Linked DNA regions of Homo sapiens: regions 2, 3 and 4 are each linked to region 1. Evidence: promoter capture Hi-C in 16 types of primary human blood cells and fetal thymus (Javierre and others, 2016). All regions are on one chromosome and are shown on one strand. Each heading gives the region's core, a stretch centred on a gene start or on the middle of the fragment in contact. The rest is flanking DNA. Distances are from core to core; before and after follow the strand shown.

Region 1 (6,871 bases), core at 1,252-3,751:
GTTTGAACTCTGGAGAGTGAGTAACTGAGGTCAGCCACACAGGTAGTCCACGCTTTCATCACTGACCTCCAATAAAAACACTGGACACCAAGACTCAGGTGAGCTTTTGTGATTGGCAATACTTCATGCGTGCTGTCACATGTTATTGCTGGAAAAATCAAGTCCTGTCCATATAAATCCACTGGGAGAGGAAAAACTGGAAGATTGAGATTATTTTCTCCTGGACTTGGCCCTAGAATATTTCACCTTTGATGGCTTTAACATGTATCTTTTCACTGTAAGAAACCATAATCAAGGCTGGGCACGGTGGTTCATGCCTGTAATCCCAGCACTTTGGGAGGCTGAGGCAGGCGGATCACAAGGACAAGAGATTGAGACCATTCTTGCCAACATGGCAACACCTCTGTCTCTACTAAAAATACAAAAATTAGCTGGGCGTGGTGGCAGGTGCCTGTAGTCCCAGCTACTGGGGAGGCTGAGGCAGGAGAATCGCTTGAACCCAGAAGGTGGAGGTTGCAGCGAGCCGAGATTGCACCACTGCACTCCAACCTGGCGACAGAGCGAGACTCTGTCTCAAAAAAAGAAAAAAAATGAAACCATAATCATGGTATAACCATTTGGAAGTGTTAGTGAATCACTGGCCTGAGGTTGGTCTTAGGGAACACCAGTAAAGTCATCTTCCCCTACATTTGGCAAACAGCCTAATGCTTGACAAAGCACTGGACCACCCAGCCTCTCTGAAGTCCTCATTACAATTGCTCAGGACAAAACCTATTAATTATCCCAGGTACACTTTTCCCCTTTATATTCCACAATTGTCATGGGCAAGCACTGTCAACTCTCCCTGTAACACACACCCTCTATTGAACCCCTTGTCTCTGTCTCTAGTCTAACCACTGGAACCCAAGCCCAAACCTTGTTGCCTGGAGCCCCGCTCTCCCCGGACCTGTTCCCACTCTGCCCCAATCACACAGGCCTTCGTCCCAATCCCTGAACAGTGCGTCAGGGCCTCTGCATGGCCCTTTCCATGCCTGGACTGTCCTCTCCCAGATCAGCTCAGCAATGGTTCCTGCCACAATTCTGCTTACACATCACCTCCTCAGAGACACCGTCCCTCCCCATCCTCTCTAACACACCCTCTGCTCACCCACACCAGCGGGCCCTAACTTCTCTCTACTTCAAACTGTGCTTCTGTTACTGTTTTGCTTCTATTATTATTATTATTATTATTTGAGATAGAGTTTTGCTCTTGTTGCCCCGACTGGAGTGCAATGGCATGATCTTGGCTCACTGCAACCTCCACATCCCAAGTTCAAGCGACTCTCCTGCCTCAGCCTCCCGAGTAGCTGGGATTACAGGCGTGCGCCACCATGCCCGGCTAATTTTGTATTTTTCATAGAGATGGGGTTTCACCATGTTGGCCAGGCTGGTCTCGAACTCCTGACCTCAGATGATAGCTCCCACCTTGGCCTCCCAAAGTGCTGGGATTACAGGCATGAGCCACCGTGCCCAGCTGTTTTTCTTCTATTATTATTGTTCTTGCAGGAGCTGGTAAAGTGGCTGATGTGGCCACAGCTCCATAAATCCATGTGGAACGAAGGGTGGACATCGCCTGAGTCCAGGAGACAGGACAGGGTCACTCATCTCTGTCCCTGGTGATGGAAACTCAGGCTCAGGAAAGAGCCTTGACCTGCCCTGGGTCACAGAGAGAATATGAGGGTCAGGGCTCAAGCCCAAGTGCTGTCTTCAGGCCCTTAGGCTGCCTCTCACACCCAGACTAGGAAGCTGGAGCAGAAAGTTTGCTAGAACAATCCTGAGAAGAGGCCTGCACAGTTCAAGGGGCAGCTTGGAGGAGGAGAGGAAGGGAGGGCGGGCTCTGGCCAGCAGGCTCTTGGACCTCAGGCCAGGCTCTGGCAGCTGCGTCTGGTATCAGGACTGCAGGTCCCGACAGGGGGCGGTGGCTCACGCTTGTATTCCCAGCACAGTCGCCAAGCCTAATGTCCCTTCCAACGGTGGAAAATTTTGGTAAAAATCAATGACAGGCTGGGCGTGGTGGTGCATGCCTGTGATTCCAGCTACTCAGGAGGCTGAGGCACGAGAATCTCTCGAACCCGGGAGGTCTAGGCTGCAGTGAGTGGAGATGGTGCCACTGTACTCCATCTGGACGACCGAGCAAGACTCTAACAACAACAACAAAAAAAACGGACTGCAGGTGCAGTGCCCAGCACAGAGCCTGCTACATAGGAATTCTCATTTTCTTCTCTTCCCTACTCTTTCCTTCCTTTATAATCTCTTCCTTTCCCTCTGAAGTACCGACCCCAGAGCTTGAGATCTCATCCCAGCCTCCCTCTTATTGCCATCCTCCCCTGCTGCCTTCCCCACACCCCTACCTCTCACAGGGTGGGGGTAGGGCCTCCTGGGACCCCAGTCCCAGCCCCAGCAGCAGTAGCAGGCACAGCTCCCAGGTCCTCCCTGGCATGGTGGCTGTGACTGTGACTGAATGAGCAAGCCCAGGCACCTTCGGCTTGCTGGGCACAGCCTGGCTCACCTGCCTGTCCAAGTCGGCCAAAGTCCAGCCTTTGAGGCGTGGCCACCTGAGGGGACGTGTGCTTGGTCTGTGTGTGGCCCGCTTGCCCCTCCTGCTCTCAGGGCACAGTGGCCACCTCCCTTGCTTCTACTTTGCCTCTTCTATTTCACAGTCTCAGCTGGTGCCAATGGCTCAGGCCCTTCCCTCAGAGCATGGTGGTGGGGGTGGGGAGTGGGCACCCAAAGGCCAGGGACACAGTCGAGGCCACACACCTGTAACCTGGATGCCAGGTTCCTTGGGTGGCCCCAAGACCACCAACCTCAGAGAGTTACCATTTCCCTTAACATTTCAAATGGAATGGCTCAAGATCCTGTCCCTGGTGTGGTGTGAAATTCAGGGCCTCTCACTGTTATCTGCAAGAGATACAGCGGAAGCACAGGACAGTAGAACCATTCTGTCTGGGGAGGACTAAGGGAGACCCACAATAGTGTGTCATTTGTAATGAGTCTTTTTTTTTTTTTTTTTGAGACTGAGTCTCACTCTGTCGCTAGGCTGGAGTGCAGTGGCGTGATCTCAGCTCACTGCCACCTCCGCCTCCCGGGTTCAAGCAATTCTCCTGCCTCAGCATCCTGAATAGCTGGGACTACAGGTGCCCGCCACCACGCCCAGCTAATTTTTGTATTTTTAGTAGAGACGGGGTTTCACTGTGTTGGCCAGGATGGTCTCAATCTCTTGACCTCATGATCTGCTCGCCTTGGCCTCCCAAAGTGCTGGGATTACAGGCGTGAGCCACTGCGCCAGTCCTAATGAGTCTTGATGACCGCATAGGAGTTTGCCAAGGGAAATGGGCTGGAGACCACTACAATGTATGCAGAGCATGTGAAGAGAAGAGCAAACCCCTCAGCCTAGCTGCAGAGAACTTGGTGTTCATGCAGGGAAGGGTTTTGAGATAGACTGGAGGAACATGTTGGCACCAGTCTGGAAATGGTCTTTGCCAAGCCAAGGAATGTAATTCCTTGTAATTCCCCAAAGTGGAACCAGCAGAGAAGTTTGTGAGCTTAAGAAGCAGATTCAGGCTGGGTGCAGTGGCTCATGCCTGTAATCCCACCACTTTGGGAGGCCGAGGCGGGTGGATCACCTGAGGTCAGGAGTTCAAGACCAGCCTGGCCAACATGGTGAAACCCCGTCTCTACAAAAATACAAAAATTAGCTGGGCATGATGGCGGGTACCTGTAATCCCAGCTCCTCAGGAGGCTGAGGTGGGAGAATCGCTTGAACTCGGGAGACAGAGGTTGTAGTGAGCCGAGATCATGCCACTGCACTCCAGCCTGGGCGACAGAGTAAGTCTCTGTCTCAAAAAAAAAAAAAAAAAAAAAAAAGCAGATTCGGTTACTTTAGGAGGCTCATCCCCTCAACATATGGAAGGTGAGCTGAAGGGACAGGGGACAGGGGGTGGGCAAGGCACATGGAGTTTAATGATAGGCATGACCTCTCCTGAAGGACTTAGGTTTGCAGTTAAGGATGTCAGTTGTGGCACCTGAGCAGTGTTTACTGCTATTAAAAAGAAAAACCTTAGACAAATTAAATTTAACCATTTATTCAAGCAAAGAAATGACTCATGAATCAGGCACCACTCTGAACTAGTAAAGGTTCAGATAGCTCCACCCAGTAATGTGGGCAGCTGGCATTGTTTTTTTTGTTTGCTTTGTTTTTTGAGACAGGGTCTCGCTCTGTTGCCCAGGCTGGCATGCAGTGGCTCCATCACAGCTCACTGCAGCCTTGATCTCTCAGGTTTAAGGGATTCTCCCACCTCAGCCTCCTGAGCAGCTGGGACCACAGGCACATGCCACCACGCCCAACTAATTTTTAAATTAAAAATAATTTTTTTTTTTTTAGAGATTGGGTCTCCCTATGTTGTCCAGGCTGGTGTGGAACTCCTGAGCTCAAGCAATCCTCCTGCCTCATCCTCCCAATGTATTGGGATTACAGGTGTGAGCCACCATGCCTGGTCAACAATTTTTAAGTGTACAATTCAATTTCCTTTTATTACATTCACAATGCTGTGCAACCACCCTTGCATTCTTTGGATAAATCTCACTTGGTCATGATGTCTAATCCTTTTAATAAACTGTTGGTTTTGGCTTGCGAGTATTTTTTTGAGGAATTTTGCATCAATATGTATAGAGCATATTTGACTGTAATTTTCTTTCCTTGTTTTGTTTTGTTTTTTTTTTTTTTTGGACACATAGTCTTGCTCCATCACCCAGCAGGCTGGAATACAGTGGCATGAACACAGCTCACCACAACCTCGACTTCCTGGGGCTCAAGTGGTCATCTGGCCTCAACCTTCTGAGTAGCCAGGACTACAGGTGCATGCCACCACGCCTGGGTAATTTTTAAATTTTTTTGTAGAGACTACATCTGACTGTGTCGCCCAGGCTGGTCTTGAACTCCTGGCCTCAAGTGATCCTCCCGCCTTGGCCTCCCAAAGTGTTTCTCCCCAAGTGTGAGCCACCATGCCCAGCCCTCTTGTGATGTCTTTATCTGGTTTTAATATCAGGGTAATGTTAGCCTCATAGCATGAGTTAGGAAATATGCCCCTCTTCTATTTGTGGAAGTGTTTGAGAAGGATTGTTAATTCTTTAAATGTTTGGTAGAATTTACCAATGAAGCCATCTGGTCCTGGACCGTATTAGGCAGAAACAATACATATATGGGGGATGGGGGTAGAGAGAGAGAGTTTGAGAGGTAGCTGGCAAGTCCAAAATCTCTAGGGTAGGCTGGCAGGCTGGAGAAACAGGGAAGAAGCTGCAGTTCAAGTCTGAAGGCAGCATGCTGAGAGAATTCCTTCTTCTTCTGGGGAGGTCAGTCTTTTTCAAATTAAAGTCTTCAACTGATTGGATAAGGCCCATCCAAGTTAGGGAGGGTAACCTGCTTTACTCAAAGTCTACAAATTTAAATGTTATTTTCATCTAAAAAATATCTTCACAGAAACATCTAGAATAATGCTTGACCAACTATCTGGATACCTTTGCCTAGCCATGTTGACACATAAAATTAAACATCTTTTTTTTTTTTTTTGAGATGGAGTCTCGCTGTGTTGCCCAGGCTGGAGTGCAGTGGCATGATCTTGGCTCACTGCAACCTCTGCCTCCTAGGTTTAAGCGATTCTCCTGCCTCAGCCTCGTGAATAGCTGGGATTACAGGCGCCCACCACCACACCCAGCTACTTTTTGTATTTTTAGTAGAGATGGGTTTTCACCGTGTTAGCCAGGCTGGTCTCGAACTCCTGGCCTCAGGTGATCCACCCGCCTTGGCCTCCCAAAGTGCTAGGATTACAGGCATGAGCCAACGTGCCCAGCCAATGTTCTTTAAAAAAACACATGACTCTACAGTGATTGTACTAACTTACATTCTCACCAACAGTATATGAGGGTTCCTTTTCTCCACATCCTCACCAGCATTTGTTATTGCCTGTCTTTTGGATAAAAGCCATTTTAACCGTAGTGAGATAATATCTCATTGTAGTTCTGATTTGCATGTCTCTGATGATCAGTTATGTAGCGCACCTTTTCATATACCTGTTTGCGACTTGTATGTCTTCTTTTAAGCAAGGTTTATAGTGATTCAGATCTTCTGCCCATTATGCAGACTGGCTTTGTTCTGGGGGAACACCTCATTATATTGCGCAGGCTGGTCTCAAACTCCTGGGCTCAAGCAATCCTCCCACCTTGGCCTCTCAAAGTGCTAGGATTACAGGTATGAGCCACCATGCCCAGCCAGTAGTGTTTTTTTTTTTTTTTTTTGAGACGAAGTCTTGCTCTATCACCCAGGCTGGAGTGCAATGGCATGATCTTGGCTCACTGCAACCTCCGCCTCCTGGATTCGAGTGATTCTCCTGCCTCAGCCTCCTGAGTAACTGGGACTACAGGCGCCCACCACCACACCCGGCTAATTTTTGTATTTTTAGTAGAGATGGGGTTTCACCATATTGGCCAGGCTGTTCTTGAACTCCTGACCTCATGATCCACCCACCTCAGCCTCCCAAAGTTCTGGGATTACCGGCATGAGCCACCACGCCCGGCCTCCAGCAGTTCTTTTTTTAGTATTATATGTTTACAACTAACCAAGTCTACTCAAATAACACTACATTTCATGGTAGTGCAAGTACCTTATGATAACAAAGTAGTCTTAACTTCTCCCTCCTGTCCCTTCTATCATTGCTGTCATTCAGTTCCCTTATCCATAAACTAGAATCGTTGAATACACAGTTGCTATTACAGATTGAGCACCCCAAATCTGATAACCCAAAATCTGAAATGCTCCAAAATCCAAAACTTGTTG
Region 2 (6,871 bases), core at 2,225-4,724, 230 kb after region 1:
CCAGACTGCCCCATGGGAGGGCTCAGGAGGCCCCGGCCTCCACCAAACTCCATGCCCATGGGAGTGCCCGCCAGGCCCTCACCACCAGCCATCTGCCCGGGAAACATGGCAGGATCCATCTGTCGGTGCGCCTGCATCATCCGCTCCATCTCCATGCTCTGTCCCATGCCACTGCCTGCCATGCCCAGGGGGCGCTGCATGCCCATCGACCGCTTCTCCAGCAGCTGGTGCCGCAGCAGCTCCTCACGGACCCGGGGAGTCATGAATCGCTCCGCCTCACCCTGCCCACCTGGGTAGGGCATGGTGTTCTGGGCAAAATTGCTGGGTCCCCCCATAGGGGGCAAGTCTTCGGTCCAGCCCATGCCTGGTCTCACGGGCCTCTGCATGGCATTCATGGGCACCTCCATGGGCATACTCTGCATGCCCCCAAACCCAGGTACCCGTTGTATCTGGTTGCCTGGGAAACGGGGCCCAGGAAAGGGAGGTCCGCCCCGGAGCTGCATGGGATCTTGAACATCCATGGGCCCCCGCAGCTGCGCACCCATTCCAGGTGGCCACTGATCCCCAGGCTTGCTGTGGTAAGGAGGCGGGGGCCCCCTCACCATCATGCCCCCCATGCCCATCATGTCCTGCAGAGGACGGCTCCCATGCAGCCCAATCTGTTCCTCTTTCCGCCGTTTCTCTTCGTAGTACTCCTCCTGCAGCTTGCGCCAGGCCACCTGCTCAGGCGTGAGGCTGTCCTGGCCCAGCCTCTGTATCATCATGTTCATCTGCTGCCCCATGTCCCCACCCGGGGGGTGCCCAGGCACTTCATGCTCCAGCGGGGGGCCCCCTAGGCTCTGTGTCTGTGAAATCATGGACTGCAAGGGTTCCTCATATTTCTTCAGCCCGCTGGGAGGGGCCGTGGGTGGCTGCTGGGGGGGAGGGGGGGCTTGTGCTGGTGGGCCCCCCTCACCCGCTCCTCCTGGGGGCCCCTTGAGGAAGGGCTCAGTCTCTCCGCTGCGGAGCAGCAGTCGCTCAATGTCTCGCAGCGTCTGGAGGGACCGTTCCCGATGCTCCAGCTGCTCTTTGGACAAGCCCTCTGAGCCCACCAGGCTGCGCTGCCCATTTCCAGGGGCGGCTGCCTCCCCCAGCAGGGCAGGGCCGGGGGCACTGCTGGGGTCTCCTCCAGGAGGCAGAGGGTTGTTGGCGGTGGTAGCCGTCGGGGTGTTAGGGTGGGTGCCCCCAGTCCCACCACCTGTGCTGGCAGCTCCCACCGAGTTGGGGGCCAGGTCCTGACTGCTGTCCTCAGGAGGCCCCTCTGGGGGCAGAGCAGGCGGGGCACTGCCAGGGGCCGGGGGTGGCGGCGGCGGCAGTGGAGGTGGCTGGGACTGCGGGGTGCCTGCTGACGGCGTGCTCAGGGGTAGCGGTTCTGGGGTGGGGGGCACTTTAGGGGCCTGCAGAAGGACAAAGAGAGCATGAGACAGGTAAGGGGACGTTCCACCCAGTCCTGCTGCTCACAGAGGCGCCACGCTCACCTGGTCAAGCTTGGCCCGGGGCACGTTCTGCTGGTGGTAGGCGAGGATGGAGTCGGCCCGGCCCTGCAGCACTGCCTCTGCAGCCCTGCACAGAGTGGGGGCACCGACAGCTCAGAGAGGTGAGCAGGAGGGAGCCCCACCCTCACCCACCCCACCCTGCCCCTGCACGGGGCTCCCTCGGAACCCCAGGCTGAGAGGTGCTGGGCAGAGAGAGAGAGAGACTTGGCCTGCCCACCAGGCACTTACGTGTTGGCCAGGTGGGTGGTGAAGACATATACGAACTGCGAGGGAGGCTTTCCGGGGACGCCCCCGCCCCCGCCCCCGCCCCCAGGGGCATCAGGCCGAAGGCCAGGAGGAGGGCCGTGCGGGGCGCCTGGCACGCTGCTCTCGCTGAGGGGCAGTTGGGTGGTTTGGCCGGGACCCAGCTGTGGGGCCGCCATGGCTGGGTCTGCTACATTACAATCTGCAGGAGAGAGGACAGGGAAAGGGGCTAAGTGGTCTAGATACAAGAAGGACCAGCTGATGCCCCCTCCCACTGATGCTCACAGCCTTACAGCTCGTGCCCACAGGGACATTTGATGTCAGTATCTGGTGTTCTCACCAGGCTGGTTTCCACGATGGCAAGAGTGGTGACCATGTGGAGAGCAGGGACAGAGAAAATGTGTCCTCTCCACAGGCTCCCATGGGCCTGGCATTCTGCTGGGGACTTAACAGGTGTGATTTCATCTCATCAACACACCCTGGGAGGAACGTGTCACACACTCCACTTAACAAAGGAGGAAATAAGTTCCTCACCCACAGTTACACAGCCAGTTAGTGCAGAGCCAGAACTGAACCCAGGGCCGGGACTCTGAAGCTCCGCTCTGAGCTGCTGCCCCTCTCACTGGGTAAGTGTATGTGCACACAGTCTAGTGACCCAGTTAGGGAGAAGGCAGAGAGGGTACACAAGCTGATGATCCAAATGATGGATGGTTTTTCACTCTAGCCCCACCACTAACTGACTTTGTGATTTTATGAACCAGACATCCCTCTAAGCCTCGGTTTCTTCATCTATAAAATGTAAAATACTAACCTCCTCCTTGCACAGGGGGCAGGCCAAAGAAATATATTTTTTAACAGTAAGTTTAAATCAATGTCACAGACTAAAAAAATCCATTTGAAAAACAGAGAGCCGGGAGCGGTGTCTCACGCCTGTAATCCCAGCAGTTTGGGCGGTAGAGGCGGGCGGATCACCTGAGGTCATGAGTTCAAGACCAGCCTGGCCAACATGGTGAAACCCCGTCTCTACTAAAAATACAAAAATTAACTGGGCATGGTGGCGCATGGCTGTAATCCCGCTACTCAGGAGGCTGAGACATGAGAATTGCTTGAACTTAGGAGGTGGAAGTTGCAGTGAGCCGAGATCACACCATTGCACTCTAGCCAGGGCGACAGAGCGAGACTGTCTCAAAAAAATAAATAAATAAATAAAAATAAGAAAGAAAAAACAGTTAGAAAAAGCTGACATACTGGAAACACTCTCAAGACAGACCAGCTGCCCTCAGCACCAAGGGAAGTTTTGTTCCATGGTTAGACACTTGACTGTAAGTCTTAGCGTAGAAAAAAATCTACAACGGGTCTAGGTGAGTGGGTAGACCCATTCGCATGCCAAGAAAAGCAAGTCACAGTTCCTGGCCCGCAGACAGTAAGTACCAGCATTCTCAGTTAATGGGAGACAGATTGCCTGAAGTTGTCTCCATCCAGCCAGGGCAGTGACCACCTTCCCATGGGCCCAGTGTCAGGCTGCCCTCTTTGGAAAAAGTTTCTTCTGCACCTTCTTCTCTGATGGACCCACCCCAAAACGGCCCTGCTCTGGACCCTATCTATCCAATTTTACATAGAAGAGCAGAGCCAGAAATTTGCGGGGGAGCTTGAGAGCTGACCTCAATGTGTGAAGGCTGCTGAGTAGCTCTTGGATACGAGCTATGGGGAGACAGGCAGGGCTTAGTCCAACAAGGAACTTTCTAGTACAATAACAATGATAAAAGCTAACATGTTACATGTATAACCTCATTTACTCCTCATACCAACCCTATGAGATAAATAATACTTTTACAGATGAGGAAACTGAGGCCCTTTCCCAAATTTACAGAAATAACCTGGGTTGCAAACGAAGGCAGCCTGATGGCAGAACTAGTCCTGTCAATGTCTACGTTCTATCGCCCCTCCAGTAAGAACTCTTCAAGAATCTAAGGGCAGGCCGGGCACGGTGGCTTATGCCTGTAATCCTAACACTTTGGGAGGCCGAGGCGGGCGGATCACTTGAGGGCAGGAGTTCAAGACCAGCCTGGCCATAATGGTGAAACTCCATCTCTACTAAAAATACAAAAATTAGCCAGGCGTGGTGACGCATGCCTGTAATCCCAGCTACTTGGGAGGCTGAAGCAGGAGAATTACTTGAACCCAGGAGGTGGAGGTTGCAGTGAGCCGAGATTGTGCCACTGCACTCCAGCCTGGGCAACAGAGTGAGTGAGACTCTGTCTCAAAAAAAAAAAAAAAAAAAAAGAATCAGGCCGGGTGGCTCACGCCTGTAATCCCAGCACTTTGGGGGGCTGAGGCAGGTGTATCACCTGAGGTCAGGAGTTCAGGACCGGTCTGGCCAACATGCTAAAACTCCACCTCTGCTAAAAATACAAAAATTAGCCAGGCGTGGTGGCAGGTGCCTGTAATCCCAGCTACTCGGGAGGCTGAGGCAGGAAAATCGCTTGAACTCAGGAGGCAGAGGTTGCAGTAAGCCGAGTTCGTGCCATTGCACTCCAGCCTGGGCAACAAGAGTGAAACTCCGATTCAAAAATAAATAAATAAATAAATAAATAAAAGAATCTAAGGGTAGTACGACTAAAATAGTCGCCTTGAGTATGGGATGTTAGCAATTTCTACTTTGTATTTCCCTATGTTTGCCAGGCACAGTGGCTCACTCCTGTAATTCCAGCACTTTGGGAGGCCAAGGCATGAGGATCGCTTGAGACCAGGAGTTCAAGATCAGCCTGGGCAACATGGCAAGACTGTCTCTACAAAAATTAGCCAGGTGTGATACATGCCTGAGCCCCAGCTACTTGGGAGTCTGAGATGGGAGGATCACTTGAGCTCAGGAGTTTGAGGTTGCAGTGAGCTGTGATCACACCACTGCACTCCAGCCTGGGTGTCAGAGAGAGACCCTGTCTCTAAACAATAAATAAATAAAACTCACAAAGTTTCTACAATGGTGCAGTCTGATGTGACATAAGTGAACTGGAGGTGGTGGCTATGGGGGGAGGTGTCTGGTCTGGGAAGCAGTAAAGGCTTCTATCATCAAAGGGTTCAGCCAGAGGCTTGGCGACCACCAGGTTAGTCCCACGGGGGAGAGAGAACTGATACAGGATGGTCTGTGAGGTTCCAGCTAGCTGTAGAGGTTTGGTATTTGACCCTCTACACCCCTGTCACAGACATAGTCTGCTCACTCCATAACATTTGCTGACTCTCTCTCCTCCTCTGTAATTGGCATCATGATAACACTGACCTCACAGGGCTGTTGTAAGGATTAAATAAAACAGAGTAGCAAAGTAGCCAATGTACTCTTTTCTTTCTTCTTTCTATGGTCCCTGCCTTCAAGGAGTTCACAATTTAATAGTCTCTGGCTAGTTTCTTTTTCTTCTTTCTTTACTTCTTTCCTTTCTTTCTCTCTCTCTCTCTTTTTAGAGATGGGGTCTCCCTATGTTGGCCAGGCTGTTCTTGAACTCCTGGGCTCAAGCAATTCTCCGGTTTCAGCTCCCCAAATTCTGGGGATTACAGGTGACAGCCACCACACCCAGCCTCTCTGGCTAGTTTCTTATGTCTCTCTCCTCAAAAAGATGTAAACGTAAACTTTGAGGGAAAAAAAATATGTACAAGCTTCCCAGGGGCAGGGGTTACATCTGGCTCTCCCCCATCACTCATGGAAGGACAAGATATAGGCGAATCCATAAAAGAATCAGAGGAGGAGTGGGCATCCCTCCACACCCACTTCTTGTCCTGGTGACACACCCTGGGTACTTGCCAGGAGTCAATTAGAGGTTAGGGAAGGGCACTAGAGACACGGCCAAGTGGCAACTCACACCCAGGCTTAGCAGGGCTTTGCACAGCAGAGCCAACTGCCCGGCTCCCAGTGTCCCTGGACGCTTCACCGCCCTCCCTCCACTAACCAGTAGGTGGCAGCATAGGCCAGGAATTCACAGGTAGAGGTGCAGGTGACGTGACCAAGAAGGAGGCCACTCCACTCTGCCCCACCTAGGGTCCCTAGGGAGAGGGGGTCACTGAGCACCTGGAAGGCAGAGGCGAGGCAGTTGCAGTGTAGGGAGGGACAGAGTCTGAGAGGTAGGATGGGAGAGAAAAATCCAGGACTCCCAGTCCTCACTTCTTTCCCAGGCTCAGTCCTCTCAAGTCCATCCCCCAGGAACATCACGGGCTACAGCACCCTGGCATCGACAGGCACTCACTGTGGGTGGCCCCAATGGGCTTGTCGTCCTCCTCACTGTCCGGTCCAGAGCACCATTCGTCCCCACTGTACGGCTGCTTCCGCTCCAGCACACAGCGCCGCTTACTCCGCGGCGCCACCTCTGCCCAGGCAGGACGGAGGAAAGAGTGAGTGCCTAGAGGCCCCATTATTCTCCCACACCCAGGGTCCCTCCCAGATCCATTCTCTAAGATGCCCCACCCTAGAGGGCACTGCCCAGGCCATGGTGGGCACTTCGCCAGCCCGTGGCCCCCACCACGCCACCATTTGTTTCTGATTTCTCTCTATAGCCCCATGCCTGTCTCCCCTCCCCCCCAACACCAAGTACAGCATAATCCCCAACCACAACTGGTTCTAATTAGGGCTGGAGGGGAGGGGGAGCTGCTGCTACTCTTCCAGGCCCCAGTGCCTGCTCCCAAAGGGCTCCCACCAGCCGGGATACGGAGGCTCCTGGAAGTGTGTGGGTCTGGGGTCTGCTCCTCACTCCATGGCACCTCCCTCTCCCCTTCTGGAGCTCTGGTGGGAAAGCAGGAGGGGAAGGAGTCCAGAAGTCCGACCACTCTGTGTGGCCCCTCCATGGGTGGCATCATGGCCAACCCCAATCCCGAATGATCTGGTTGGTGGGTGTTGAAAGGTACCCATGCAGAAATACTGGAGAAGAACGTGGGATGAGGACTGGACAAGCAGGGAGCAGAGAGGTGATCTCCCAGAACATCTGAGCCTTGGACTATGGGAGATGCTAGGGTCTTAGGGATGAGGAAATGGGGTACCTTTGGCCTCTGAATCCAGGGATGGGGTCCCAGCCTCTCGCTGCTCTCCAGAGTCCACAGACACACTCCGGTCC
Region 3 (6,871 bases), core at 1,487-3,986, 170 kb after region 1:
ATATTTTTAGGAAATAAAAAAATGAGCTAGGCATGGTGGTGGGCGCCTATAGTCCCAGCTACTCAGGAGGCTGAGCAGGAGAATTGCTTGAACCTGGGAGGCGGAGGTTGCAGTGAGCCGAGATCGCGCCACTGCACTCCAGCCTGGGCGACAGAGTGAGACTCTGTCTCAAAAAACAGAATAAAATAATAATAAACTCATTGTGTGTCAACATAAATAACATACATAAATAACTTTTGCTAGTATCTGAATGTTGGCGTACTCCCCAAAATTCATATGTTGAAACCTAATCCCCAAGGTGATGATATTAAGAGGCGGGGTGTTTGGGAGGTAATTAGGTAATGAAGGTTCCACCCTTATCGAGGGATTAGTGCCTTTGTAAAAGAGGCTTGAAGGAGCTTCCTTGCTCCTCACACCTTGTGAGGACACAAAGAAGGAGCCATCTATGAGGAACAGGCTTTCACCAGACACCAAAATTGCTGACACCTTGATCATGGACTTCCCGATCTCCAGAATTGTGAAAAATAAATTTCTGTTGTTTATATATTACTCAGCCTAAGGTATTTTGTTATAGCAGCCCAAACATACTCAAACACTTTTATGAAACACAACTACATTTCAAAAGGAAAAAGAAGTTGGTGAGAAAAGAGCAGCTTTGTTTTACATTTTTACAAATCTTATTCATCTCTGGCTTCACAGAAGACAGCTGGATTCTCATAACTGGTGCTGCATGTAGTCTAGTGTGATATCAGTCATTCTGTAGCCTCTGGAACATTCCACATTTTGTGATAGAACAAGAGTGAAAATGGCATGTAAGCACTATAACAGTTCACAGATAATTTTTTATTATTATTATTTTGTTAAGATGGAGTCTTGCTCTGTTGCCAGGCTGGAGGGCAGTGGTACGATCTCAGCTCATTGCAGCCTCCGCCTCCCGGATTCAAGCAATTCTCCTGCCTCAGCCTCCTAAGAAGCTGGAATTACAGGTGTGAGCCACTGTGCCTGGCCTAATTTTTATATTTTTAGTACAGATGGGGTTTCACCATGTTGGCCAGGCTGGTCTTGAACTCCTGGCCTCAAGGGATCTGCCTGCCTTGGCCTCCCAAAGTGCTGGGCTTATAGGCATGAGCCACTGTGCTCAGTCCAAATTTTTTTTCTTTTCTTTTCTTTTTGAGACAGAGTTTCACTATTTTTGCCCAGGCTGGAATGCAGTGGCGCGATCTCGGCTCATCGCAATCTCTGCCTTCCAGGTTCAAGCAATTCTCCTGCCTCAGCCTCCCAAGTAGCTGGGATTACAGGCATCTGTCACCACACTCGGCTAATTTTTGTATTTTCAGTAGAGACGGGGTTTCATCATGTTAGTCAGGCTGGTCTTGAACTCCTGACTTCAGGTGATCTGCCTGCCTCGGCCTCTCGAAGTTCTGGGATTACAGGCGTTAACCACCATGCCCGGCTTATTTTCTTTTTTAAAAAAAATTTTTGGGACCGGGCGCGGTGGCTCACGCCTGTAATCCCAGTACTTTGGGAGGCCGAGGCGGGTGGATCACGAGATCAGGAGATCGAGACCATCCTGGCTGACGCAGTGAAACCCCGTCTCTACTAAAAATACAAAAAATTAGCCGGGCGTAGTGGCGGGCACCTATAGTCCCAGCTGCTCAGGAGGCTGAGGCAGGAGAATGGCATGAACCCGGGAGTTGGAGTTTGCAGTGAGCCGAGATTGCGCCACTGCACTCCAGCCTGGGCGACAGAGCGAGACTCCGTCTCAAAAAAAAAAAATTTTGGGGCTGGGTGCAGTGGTTCACGCCTGTAATCCCAGCACTTTGAGAGGCCAAGGCGGGTGTATCACCTGAGGTTGGGAGTTCGAGACCAGCCTGACCCACATGGGGAAACCCTGTCTCTACTAAAAATACAAAAATTAGCTGGGCATGGTGGCAGGTGCCTGTAATCCCAGCCACTGGGAGGCTGAGGCAGGAGAATCTCTTGAACCGGAAAGACAGAGGTTGCGTTGAGCTGAGATCGTGCCATTGCACTCCACCCTGGGCGACAGAACGAGACTCCGTCTCAATCAATCAATCAATCAATCAATGAAAATAGTTTAGATTTCACAGACCCGCTGAAAGGGTCTCTGGGACCTCTGATATTCCCAGACCACACTTTGGGGACCCCTGTTGTAGCATTATGCCAGAGGACTCTGCTTGGTCCTGTTCAGCATTCTCACTACCTGCTAGGACAAAATAATCAATGTTTACCACTTTGGCAGATGATGCAAACTGGGAAGGGAATTATTACAAAAGATGACAGAATTAAAACTTTTAATTATTTCAGCTGACCAGAATCAAACAGAATTAAATTGTATGTGGGATATCTTGCATTTACGTTTTGCTTTATTTTAAATTAGTTGCACGTGTACTAGAAGCATGGGATGGAAGGAACTGGCCAGATAGCAGTTTGTATGAAAAAGATCTGGTGGTTTAGGCCAACCACAAGCTAAATATGAACCAACAGCTTGTAACATAATGTCAAGAAGTGTAACCATTGAACTGGGACAGACGGGCTGAGGGTTACTTGGAGGAGGGGTGGGTAGAGGAGGGAGTAGTTACATTTTCTTTGCTCCAGCCATTCTCACATTTGCTCTGACTCTCTGAACACTGCTTGCCCCCAGCAGTTTGCTCTGTCAAGAGGCCTCTGTCCAGGGGTCTGCTTGCTTCTGTAAAACACTAGAGCTCAATCTCAGCATCACTTGCAGTCTTCTTCAACATCACCCTTTGGAACTTGGCATGGCCACCTGGGACTCAACTCTTCCTGGCCTGGCCCACAGGAAGAACGGGTCATGGCTTCTTCCTGCTTGTCGCCAAGACGGTGTCTTTGTGCCTTGTGAAATGATTCCATCCCTTCCCTCTTGGGTCAAGAGAGAAGTTCCTCCCAAGATCAGCAAGGATGGCCCCGACTGGCACACACTTCAAGAAGGTGATGATTTCTCCTATTCTGCTCCGGTCTAAGTCAGTCAAGAATGGCATTCTAATCTTGTTACCGGAAAGGGGTCCCGATCCAGACCCCAAGAGAGGGTTCTTGGACCATGCGCAAGAAAGAATTTGAGGCAAGTCCACAAAGTGAAAGTCCACAAAAAGAAAGCAAAGGAATAAAAGAATGGCTACTCCATAGGCAGAGCAGTGGCTTGAGCTGCTCGACCGAGGATACTTACTGTTACTTCTTGATTATATGCTAAGCAAGGGGTGGATTATTCATGAGTTTTCTGGGAAAAGAGTGGGCAATTCCCAGAACTGAGGGTTCCTCCCCTTTTTATTTTTTTAAATTTATTTTTATTTATTTATTTATTTTATTTATTTATTTATTTATTTATTTATTTATTTTTATACGGAGTCTCGCTCTGTCACCCAGGCCGGAGTGCAGTGGCGCGATCTCGGCTCACTGCAAGCTCCGCCTCCCAGGTTCACGCCATTCTCCTGCCTCAGCCTCCCAAGTAGCTGGGACTACAGGCGCTCGCCACCACAGGCTAATTTTTTGTATTTTTAGTAAAGACGAGGTTTCACCATGTTAGCCAGGATGGTCTCGATCTCCTGACCTCGTGATCAACCCGCCTCGGCCTCCCAAAGTGCCGGGATTACAGGCGTGAGCCACCGCGCCGGCCTCCTCCCCTTTCGAGACCATATAGGGTAACTTCCTGATGTTGCCATGGCATTTGTAACTGTCATGGCGCTGGTGGGTGTGTCTTTTAGCATGCTAATGCTTTATAATTAGCGTATAATGAGCAGTGAGGACAACCAGAGGTCACTCTTGTCACTATCTTGGTTTTGGTGGGTTTTGGCTGGCTTCTTCACTGCAACGTGTGTTTTTTGTTTGTTTGTTTGTTTGTTTGTTTTTGAGACAGAGTCTCTCCCTGTCGCCCAGGCTGGAGTGTTCACAGCAACCTCCGCCTCCCGGGTTCAAGCCATTCTCCTGGGTTCAAGTGATTCTCCTGCCTCAGCCTCCCGAGTAGCAAAAGGCGCACGCCACCATGCCCAGCTAATTTTTGGTATCTTTAGTAGCGATTTCACCATGTTGGCCAGGTCGAACTCCTGACCTCGTGATCCGCCCGCCTCGGCTTCCCAAAGTCCTGGGATTACAGGCGTGAGCCACCGCGCCCAGCCACCTGCAACATGTTTTATCAGCAAGGCCTTTATGACCCGTATCTTGTGCTGACCTCCTGTCTATTCCTGTGACTAGAATGCCTAGCCTCCTAGGAACGTAGTTCAGTAGGTCTGAGTCTCATTTTACCCAGCCCCTATTCAAGATGGAGTCGCTCTGGTTCAAACCCCTCTGACAGTCTGGGAAAATTACTCACTCCATTAATGACCTGAAAAAATTCCAGAGGATGATGGAGGCAGAGAATAGGCTCTGGAGTCAGGTGTAGGTACAAATCCCTTCTCTGTCACTTGCCAAATGCATGCCCACTGCACAAGTTACTTAAACTCTATGAACCTCAGTTTGCTCATTTCATTTATATAATGAAAGTAATATTGGGTATTATGAAGGCTGAGTGAGATAATTCATATCAAGTGCTTATCATAGTATCTGGCACATAATAATCATTTATTAAATATTAATTGTATAAATTGTATTTTGTCTCAATTTTTTTTTTTTTTTTTAGATAGAGTCTCTCTATGTTGCCAGGCTGGAGTGCAATGGCATGATCTTGGCTCATTGCAACCTCCGCCTCCTGGGTTCAAGCCATTCTCCTGCCTCAGCCGCCCGAGTAGCTGGGACTACAGGTGTGCGCCACCACACCCAGCTAATTTTTCTATTTTTGGTAGAGATGGGGTTTCACCATGTAGGCCAGGATGATCTTGATCTCTTGACCTCATGATCCACCCCTGACTCGGCCTCCCAAAGTGCTGGGATTACAGGTGTGTGCCACCTCACCCGGCCAATTTTTTTTTTTTTTTTAAGACTGAGTCTCACTCTGTTGCCCAGGCTGGAGTGCAATGGCGTGACCTTGGCTCACTGCAACCTCTGCCTCCAAGGTTCAAGCAATTCTCCTGCCTCAGCCTCCCAGGTAGCTGGGATTACAGGCACGCACCACCATGCCTGGCTGATTTTTTTTTTGGTATTTTTAGTAGAGACGGGGTTTCGCCATGTTGGCCAGGCTGGTCTCAAACTCCTGACCTCAGGTGATCCAGCCACCTCAGCCTCCCAAAGTGCTGGGATTACAGGCGTGAGCCACCATTCCTGGCCTGTATCAAAAATTTTAAAGGGAAACCTGATCCGAAGAGGCACCTTTCTGCCTACAACACAGGCCCTTTCATCAGCTGACCACAGGAGGGGTGCTCCATGGAGCCCCAGGGCCACAGGCATCTCCATTTCAGAAGAGGAGTTCTGCCCTACAGGTACATAACTAAAAGTCCCTTCCAGAGGGTTTTCCTAGAATGAAAATGGATTAACTTCAGCTTTGAAATGACAAATTTCATTTCCTCTCCATTCCTATAAAAGCTTCAAAGATTTCAGGGTCAATTTTCTGTTGGGGCTCAAGCTCCAAGGGTCTGTGTGTGTGCATCCCCTGGATTCCCCAAGAAGAAGAACCCGGCCCAAGACCTCCATGCAGCCAAGCCTGTCTCTACCAAAAGCCAAAGCTTGGGCGAGAATACAGATGGAGGCTCATAGACCATATACCTGATAGTTACAAGTTATAAAGAGACTATTAGACCAAATATGGTTTATCCTCCTGTGATATTCTGAAATATATATTTGGTCTTTATCACCATTTCCCAGCATACAACTCCTAAAATCCTGGGAATCTACAAAGTGCTGTGTTTTGTTTTTTGCTTTTTTGTTTTGCTTTTTCTTTTGTGAGACGGAGTCTCCCTCTGTTACCCAGGCTGGAGTGCAATGGCACAATCTCACTCAACGTCCACCTCCCGGATTCAGATGACTCTCCTGCCTCAGCCTCCCGAGTAACTGAGATTACAGGTGCCCGCCTGTCACCAACATGGTGAAATCCCGTCTCTACTAAAAATACAAAAATTAGCTGGGCGTGGTGGTGTGCCTGTAATCTCAGCTACTCGGGAAGCTGAGGCCGGAGAGTCCCTTGAACCTGGGAAGCGGAGGTTGCAGTGAGCCGAGATCACGCCACTGCACTCCAGTCTGGGTGACAAGAGCAAAACTCCATCTTGGAAAATAAAAAATAAAAAAAGAACTAGGAAGCCAGCTGGAATTTAGAATTCTTGGACTCCTCAGTTTCTCCTCGGAATGTGGAAGTGCAGAGAGGTCTGGCCTGTCACAGTCAAGTCCCGCTCTTCCATTCTGTAACCGCCCAAGGGGTTCACCTTGCCTGCTGCCAATTAATCAGAGCTCTTTTATGTATAAACATCACACACACACACAACACATATAAATACAGACAGACAGAAGATTCAGCACTTGTAAGATTTTTCATTTGCCAGTTTCTTAATTGGATTACTGAGAGTGATTTAATTTATACTTCAAAAAGATTACTCTTGGCCGGGCATGGTAGCTCATGACTGCAATCTCGGCACTTTGGGAGGCCGAGGAAGGAGCATCGCTTGAGACCAGGAGTTTGAGACTAGCCTGGCCAACATAGTGAGACCCTGTCTCAAAAAAAAAAAAAAAAAAAAAGATGACTCTGGCTGCTGTGAGCAGAAAGGATTGTGGGGTGCACAGTGGAAGCAGGGAGACTAGCTGGGAGGTAGGGGCAGCAGTCCCAGAGTGAGAGAATGATGGTCTGGACTAAGATCAGGGCTAAGATCAGGTCTGGACTAAGATCTCCCTGTGGCCAGGGAGAAAGTGCACGAATGGAGGCAGCATCTGCGGGACTTGCTGTTGGGTTCCATGTGGGCGAATATGAGGAAGAAAGAGA
Region 4 (6,871 bases), core at 2,089-4,588, 140 kb after region 1:
ATGTGAGAACGGAATAATACAATGGTGGAACCCCGTCTCTACTAAAAATACAAAGATTAGACAGGCATGGTGGCACACACCTGTGATCCCAGCTTCTCGGGAGGCTGAGGCATGAGAATGGCTTGAACCTGGGAGTGGAGGTTACAGTGAGCCAAGATAGCGCCACCGCACTTCAGCCTGGGTGACAGAGTGAGACTGTGTCTCAAAAAATATATATATTTAAAATATATATATATATATATATATATATACAAAATGTTGATATGTGTGGTGGGGTAGGTGAAGGAGTTTGTGCAAACTGAAAAGTCCAAGATTCAGGTTTTCAAATGCTGTTGTCAAGTTTGTCTCTCTTTCGGCTGTTTTCCTGTATTTAGGCTCTTTGTGTGGCAGCAAGAGGGACTCTGGAAGCTCAGGTTTACCTGCTAGTTTATGCATAAGATAACAACAGGGCCAGGTATGGTGGCTCGCACCTATAATCCCAACACTTTGGGAGGCTGAGGCAGGAGGATTGCTTGAGCTCAGGAGTTCCAGACCAGCCTGTGCAACATGGTGAGACCCCCATCTCTACCAAAACTACAAAAAATTTTAAAAATTAGCCAGGTAAGGTGGCCTGTGCCTGTAGTCCCAGCTACTAGGGAGGCTGACGTGGGAGGATCCCTTGAGCCCAGGAGGTTAGAGGCTAGCATTGAGCTGTGATCATGCCACTGGAGGACTCTAGCCTGGTCAATAGAGCACGAGCCTGTCTCAAAAAATACAGAAAGAAAAACAAAAGCATCATGATAACGTCACGATAACACTTTCCTGATGACGCTCATGAAACTCCCAGGGCAGATTCTAACAGGCCCAGCTTGGGTCATGTGTCCATCCCACAACCAATCATTGGTAAGGGAGATGGAATATTCTGATTGGCCAGGCAAGGTCAAGTCCCCAGCCCCAGGGCTATGATCCAAAGACAATGATATCACCTGCAAAGGTCTGATGAGCACTTTGTAATTGGTAAAGTGTGCAAATGTAACAATTATCACCTGTCCATAGCAGATTAGACCGTATATTAGAAGGAAAGAGAGTCTGTATTAAGTAAGCTCTACCCTTACAGCAAAGAGAAGTAGAAGTGGATAACAGGGAGACTGACAGGAAAAACTATACAAATTCCACATAGAAGTGCAGCATTCTGGGACATTTGCTGTAGAAAAAAATGGTTCTACAAACTTTATTATATAACATTGTTATCACCATGATCTATTTAGAAAAGGTTTGGGGGTTTTTTGTTTTGGTTTTGGGTTTTTTTGGTTGTTTTTGTTTGTTTGTTTGTTTTGAGACAGGGTCGCACTGTGTCACGCAGGCTGAAGTGCAATGGTGCAGTCACGGCTCATTGCAGCCTCAACCTACCTGGGCTCAAGCAATCCTCCCACCTCAGCGTCCCGGGTAGCTCTGACTACAGGTATGTGCCGCAACATCCAGCTAGTTTTTAATTTTTTTGTGGAGACTGAGTCTTGCTATGTTGCCCAGACTGGTTTCAAGCTCCTGAGTTCAAGTGATCCTCCAACCTCAGCCTCCCAAAGTGCTGGGATTACAGGTGTGAGGCGGAAAAGTGTAATATACATTTTAAAATTCATGTCTGGAGAAGTCATCCTTGTCTGTGTGTTTAACTTGTCTATCCAGAATGACTTTTTCCAAAGTTGCCAGGTAGCTGGTGATTTAATAGGGACCCTGTCCTAGTGGAGAGTCAATCTCATTCAGAAGATGATGTAGGTTTATTACAGGACAGCAAACAGTGAAAACTAAATTGGCCATTTATACATTAAGTTCTATATACTAATTATGTTTTCAGTTCCACACTCCAAAACAGAATATCGAATTGGGTGGGTCCCTTAAAGTAGGGCAATTCTCATGTTTACATGTTAAGCTTGCTTGGCCAGAACTTGCTACCCTAAAAATATACTCACTCTACTCACATGTAGGATGTAAACACATCCCTCTTTGCAGATCTGTGTTTAATCTCTTGGGTTCTCTTTAGCAATTTCCTCATTAGTAAGTTGTGTGTTGGTGGAAAGTGCTCCCAGCAGCAAAAACACAAGCAGGTGCATAACATGTGGATTATCATGCTGATAGCACTTATCCCAGAAGATGACACATCTCACCCTTTTTCCATTTTACAAACAGCTCTGACATTAGATCCACCTGTTACTTCAGGACATTTCAGGAGCTTTTCCTCAGAAAGTCCAATCTCCTCCCCAGCTGATCTGCTTCTCATCCCATTAGCAATGTCACCACACTTTATGCCGTGTGCGATCATATCCTTCCCCAAGTTATGACTATATCGTAGGGAGAAGAAAAGAGAAGAGAGAAGGAGAAGGCAAAGGAGAGAATAATTAATTCATAGTTCATTTATTAACTTCCTAGGCTTTGATTACTTGCCTGAATCCATTTTCTTCATATTTGGGCTGTACAGTAACCTGATTCTTTTGTTTTCTTCTGAGACAGGATCTTGCTCTGTCGCCCAACCTGGAGTGCTGTGGCACCATCTCGGTTCATTGCAACCTTGACCTCCGCAGGCTCAGGTGATCCTCCCCACTCAGCCTCCTGGGTAGCTGGGACCACAGGTGCACACCACCATGCCTGGCTAATTTTTGTATTTTTTGAGACAGAGTCTCACTGTGTTGCCCAGGCTGGTCTTGAACTCCTGGGCTCAAGCAATCCTCCTGCCTTGGCCTCCCAAAGTGCTGGGATTATAGGCGTGAGCCACCATGGCCAGCCTCAATTAATCTTTATATTCTCATTTCCCAGTATATTCTTCATCCTTCTTCATCTGCTTATCCTCAAAACCTCAGCTCAAAGCCATAAGGCCTTAAGTCTGTTTCCCTCATTAGAACATAAGTTCAACCTGGCAGGGTGGCTCACACCTGTAATCCCAGCACTTTGGGAGGCCCAGGCGGGAAAATTGCTTGAGCCCAGGAGTTTGATACCAGCCTGGACAACATGGGAAAACCCCACCTCTACAAAAAATACAAAAATTAGCCAGGCATGTTGGTGTGCACCTGTGATCCCAGATACTCAAGAGGCTAAGATGGGAGGATCACTTGAGCCAGCAAGGTGGAGACTGCAATGAACTAAGATCATGCCACTGAACTCCAGCTTGGGTGACAGAATGAGACCCTGTCTCAGAAAAAGACAAAAAGAAAAAGAAAAAAAAAGAAAATCTATCACTCTTCCATCTTTTCCCTGTACCTATAATTTATTCATTCAGCAAATATGTATGGATTGCCTACTCTATGTCAGGCAGTGTGTGGCTGAATGGTTCTCCTGTTATAATAATAATGATAATAACTTAAAAGAGAATAATGTTTATCAAGGCCAGCCTGAGCAACATAAGGAGACCCCATCCCTACAAAAAATAAAATTAAGTTAAAAAAAATCAGGGCTGGGCAAGGTGGCTCACGCCTGTAATCCTAGCACTTTGGGAGGCCAAGGCAGGCAAATTGCCTGAGCTCAGGAGTTCAAGACCAGCCTGGTCAACATGGCAAAACCTCGTCTCTACTAAAAATACGAAAAATTAGCAGGACGTGGTGGCATGCCCTTGTAATCCCAGCTACTCAGGAGGCTGAGGCATGAGAATCGCTTGAACCCGGGAAGCAGAGGCTACAGTGAGTCGAGATAGTGCCACTGCACTCTAGCCTGGGTGACAAAGCGAGACTCTGTCTCCAAAAATAAATAAATGAATAAAAATAATTATTTTTGTTGAGACGGTCTCACTCTGTTGCCCAGGCTGGAGTGCAGTGGTGCCATCTTGCCTCACTGCAGCCTCAACTTCCTGGGATCAAGTGATCCGCCCCAGCCTCCCGAGTAGCTGGGAATACAGGTGCATGCTATCCTGCCCAGCTAATTTTTGTACTTTTTGTATACTCTGGGTTTCACCATGTTGACCAGGCTGGTCTCGAACTTAGCTTAAGCGATCCACCCACCTCAGACTCCCAAAGTGCTGGGATTATAGGCGTGAGCCACCGTGCCTGGCCAAATTAAGTTAAATCAAATTAAAATTTTTAAAAAAGAATGTCACAGAAATGGAATCATACAGTGATTAACTTTTTTCACATGCTGTATATAAATTCACAATCCATTTTGAATTAATTTTTGTGTAAGATGTGAAGTTTAGGCCGGGTGCAGTGGCTCACGCCTGTAATCCCAGCACTTTGGGAGTCTGAGGTGGGTGGATGGATCGCTTAAGCTAAGTTCAAAACCAGCCTGGTCAACATGGTGAAACCCCATCTCCTCTAAAAATACAAAAAATTAGCCGGGCATGGTGGTGTGCACCTGTAATCCCAGCTACTCAGGAGGCTAAAGCAGGAGAATCACTGGAACCCAAGAGGTGGAGGTTGCAGTGAGCCAAGATTTCACCACTGTACTCCAGCCTGGGCAACAAAAGCAAAACTCTGTCTCAAAAAAAAAAAAAAGTGACATTTAGGTCAAGGTTCTTTTTTTTTTTCTTTTGCCTATGGATGTCCAATTTCTACAGGGCTATTCATTGAAAAGACTATTCTTCCTCCATTGAATTGCTTTTGCTCCTTTGTCAAAAATCAATTTCTGGCTTGTTCCATTGACCTGTGTATCTGTCACTACTCCATACTGTTTAAATTACTATATCTTTACAGTGAGTCTGTAGCAATACAGTAAATCTTAACATCAGACAGAATGATTGCTTCCAGATTATTCTTCTGTTTCCAAATTGTTTTAGCTATTCTAGCTCCTTCGACTTTCTGTATAAATTTTAGAATAAGCTTGTCTTCACTTACAGAAAATCTTGCTGGACTCTTCAATTTTAATAATTTTAAAGTTTTCTTCATTTCATTTATTTAATGTGTATTAGCTTTTAAAATGATTTATTCTATTGTATGTCACACAGATGGTCAGAAGACACCAAATTTCCTATGTTTCTAAGAGGTAGGGCAAGCCCTCTTTTGTCATGGTAGTCATCAAATAATTCCATACGTTATCTTTACAAGTGTTCCTTAAACCTCACAGCAACCCTAAGAGGAATATACTAGTAGTCTCTCTGTTTTACAGATGAGGAAACTGAGGCATGGATAGATTACATAACATGTCCAGTGTCTCATAGCTAGAAAGTGGCAGAGTTGGGATTTGAACCAAAGCAATCTGGTTCCAGAACACATACTGTTATCCTCTGTGCTATGCTGTTCTGTTTGAATATAGTTATCTCATCCAAGAAATTTTTATTCAGTGCCTATTATGTGCCAAGGACTGTTCTAGGTGCTGTGTGTTCTAGGTGTCCTATGGCACCCATGAGTAAAATAAAAATAAAATAAAGCAGTGATTAAGACAAAATCCCAGCTCCCATGGAGCTTCTATTGTAAAGGGGGAGAATTTACTGTATTAATGCAATAATTATTGTTTTGTTGAAGTATTATTTTATTATTTGATTTATATTGAGAACACAGACACTTTAAATATAGGAGCTGGGATCTTACCCAAAAGATATGCTTATTCACTGGATATAAATACTCACCATAATTCTACCAATCTTCTGGAGACTGAAAAATCCCTCAGTTGGGAGATAGATAAAACCATCTTGGGCCGGGCGTGGTGGCTCATGGCTGTAATCCCAGCATTTTGGGAGGCGGAGGCGGGCGGATCACGAGGTTAGGAGATCAAGACCATCCTGCTAACACAGTGAAACCCCGTCTCTACTAAAAACACAAAAAAATTAGCTGAGCCTGGTGGCACGCGCTGGTAGTCCCAGCTACTCAGGAGGCTGAGGCAGGACAATCGCTTGAACCCAGGAGGCAGAGGTTGCCACGAGCCAAGATCACACCATTGCACTCCAGCCTGGGTGACAGAGTGAAACTCTCTCAAAACAAACAAACAAACAAACAAACAAACAAACAAAAAACCATCTTGACTTCAAACACCATAGATTAGTTTTAACTATTTTAGAACTTTAGATAAAATTATACGGTATATTTTCCTTTCTGACTTCTTTTGCTCAACATTATGTTGGTAAGATTCACACATTTGTCGCATGTAGTTGTAGTTTGTTCATTCTTGTTGTGCTGTTCCATTGAGTGAAATAACCTAGTTTATCCATTCTATTGCATGTGGAGATAGAGATTGTCTCCAATGGCCGGGCGCGGTGGCTCACGCCTGTAATCCCAGCATTCTGGGAGGCCGAGGTGGGTGGATCACTTGAGGCCAGGCGTTCGAGACCAGCCTGGCCAACATGGTGAAACCCCGTCTCCACTAAAAATACAAAAATTAGCCGGGCATGATGGTGCATGCTTGTAATCCCAGCTACTCAGGAGGCTGAGGCAGGTGGATGACTTGAACCCGGGAGGTGGAGGTTGCGGTGAGCCGAGATAGTGCCACTGCACTCCAGCCCAGGTGACAGAGCTAGACTCTCTCTCAAAAAACAAACAAACAAAAAATATGATTGTCTCTTTTTGACTTACAAATGTTATATATTTTAATAAAAATATATTAAAATACATTATAATATATTAAAATATATTATAATAAAAATAATATTAATATTAATATTTGACTTACAAATATAAATAGTATATGATTATGGTCAGTTTTAATACGGCCAAACAATTTTCTAAAGTCATACCATTGTTTCATACTGCTTTCAAAAATGTTCTTTTGTTTTCCCTTATATTTAGCAAAATATTTTGTTGAGGACTCCAACTCATTTCATCTACAAACAAAAGTTTAAAAATCTATGCTTAGACCAAAGGGATGGAAAAAGAACAGCAAAGACACAGGAAACCTGAGGGAGGAGGAAACTGGGACAGATTCAGGACTGTTTGGCCAGCCAGTTCTTCCTGTAAGATATTCTCTTTCAAGAGCTAAGCTTTGG

The links. Contacts are between HindIII fragments. The CHiCAGO score rates a contact against its expected background, and 5 or more counts as called.
Region 2: a fragment that was not itself captured here is called in contact with the fragment with the promoter of TREH in region 1 in 2 of 17 cell types (naive CD4 T cells and total CD8 T cells); the score reaches 7.8 in naive CD4 T cells.
Region 3: a contact is called between a fragment that was not itself captured here and the fragment with the promoter of TREH in region 1, in 1 of 17 cell types (naive CD4 T cells). The highest score is 6.2, in naive CD4 T cells.
Region 4: a fragment that was not itself captured here is called in contact with the fragment with the promoter of TREH in region 1 in 4 of 17 cell types (naive CD4 T cells, total CD8 T cells, non-activated CD4 T cells and 1 more); the score reaches 9.3 in naive CD4 T cells.

What each region holds. Positions count from the first base shown.
Region 1 is chr11:118,677,149-118,684,019 of GRCh38, forward strand. It overlaps TREH (trehalase), which reads right to left and starts at 2,502. Exons shown (of 15, transcript NM_007180.3): 1 at 2,391-2,502. The coding sequence starts at 2,479. RefSeq lists enhancers at 1,732-2,393, 2,394-3,053. The HindIII fragment of the contact is 8,736 bases long and covers 1-6,871 here.
Region 2 is chr11:118,901,473-118,908,343 of GRCh38, forward strand. BCL9L (BCL9 like) reads right to left here. Exons shown (of 10, transcript NM_001378213.1): 4 at 6,798-6,871; 5 at 6,011-6,130; 6 at 1,764-1,980; 7 at 1,518-1,602; 8 at 1-1,436. Among named protein-coding and RNA genes, the nearest start is that of MIR4492, 5.8 kb to the right of the region's middle. RefSeq lists an enhancer at 5,991-6,060. The HindIII fragment of the contact is 3,900 bases long and covers 1,525-5,424 here.
Region 3 is chr11:118,849,638-118,856,508 of GRCh38, forward strand. No RefSeq gene overlaps it. Among named protein-coding and RNA genes, the nearest start is that of CXCR5, 31 kb to the right of the region's middle. RefSeq lists an enhancer at 6,788-6,871. The HindIII fragment of the contact is 5,498 bases long and covers 1-5,485 here.
Region 4 is chr11:118,811,809-118,818,679 of GRCh38, forward strand. No RefSeq gene overlaps it. Among named protein-coding and RNA genes, the nearest start is that of DDX6, 24 kb to the left of the region's middle. The HindIII fragment of the contact is 2,869 bases long and covers 1,905-4,773 here.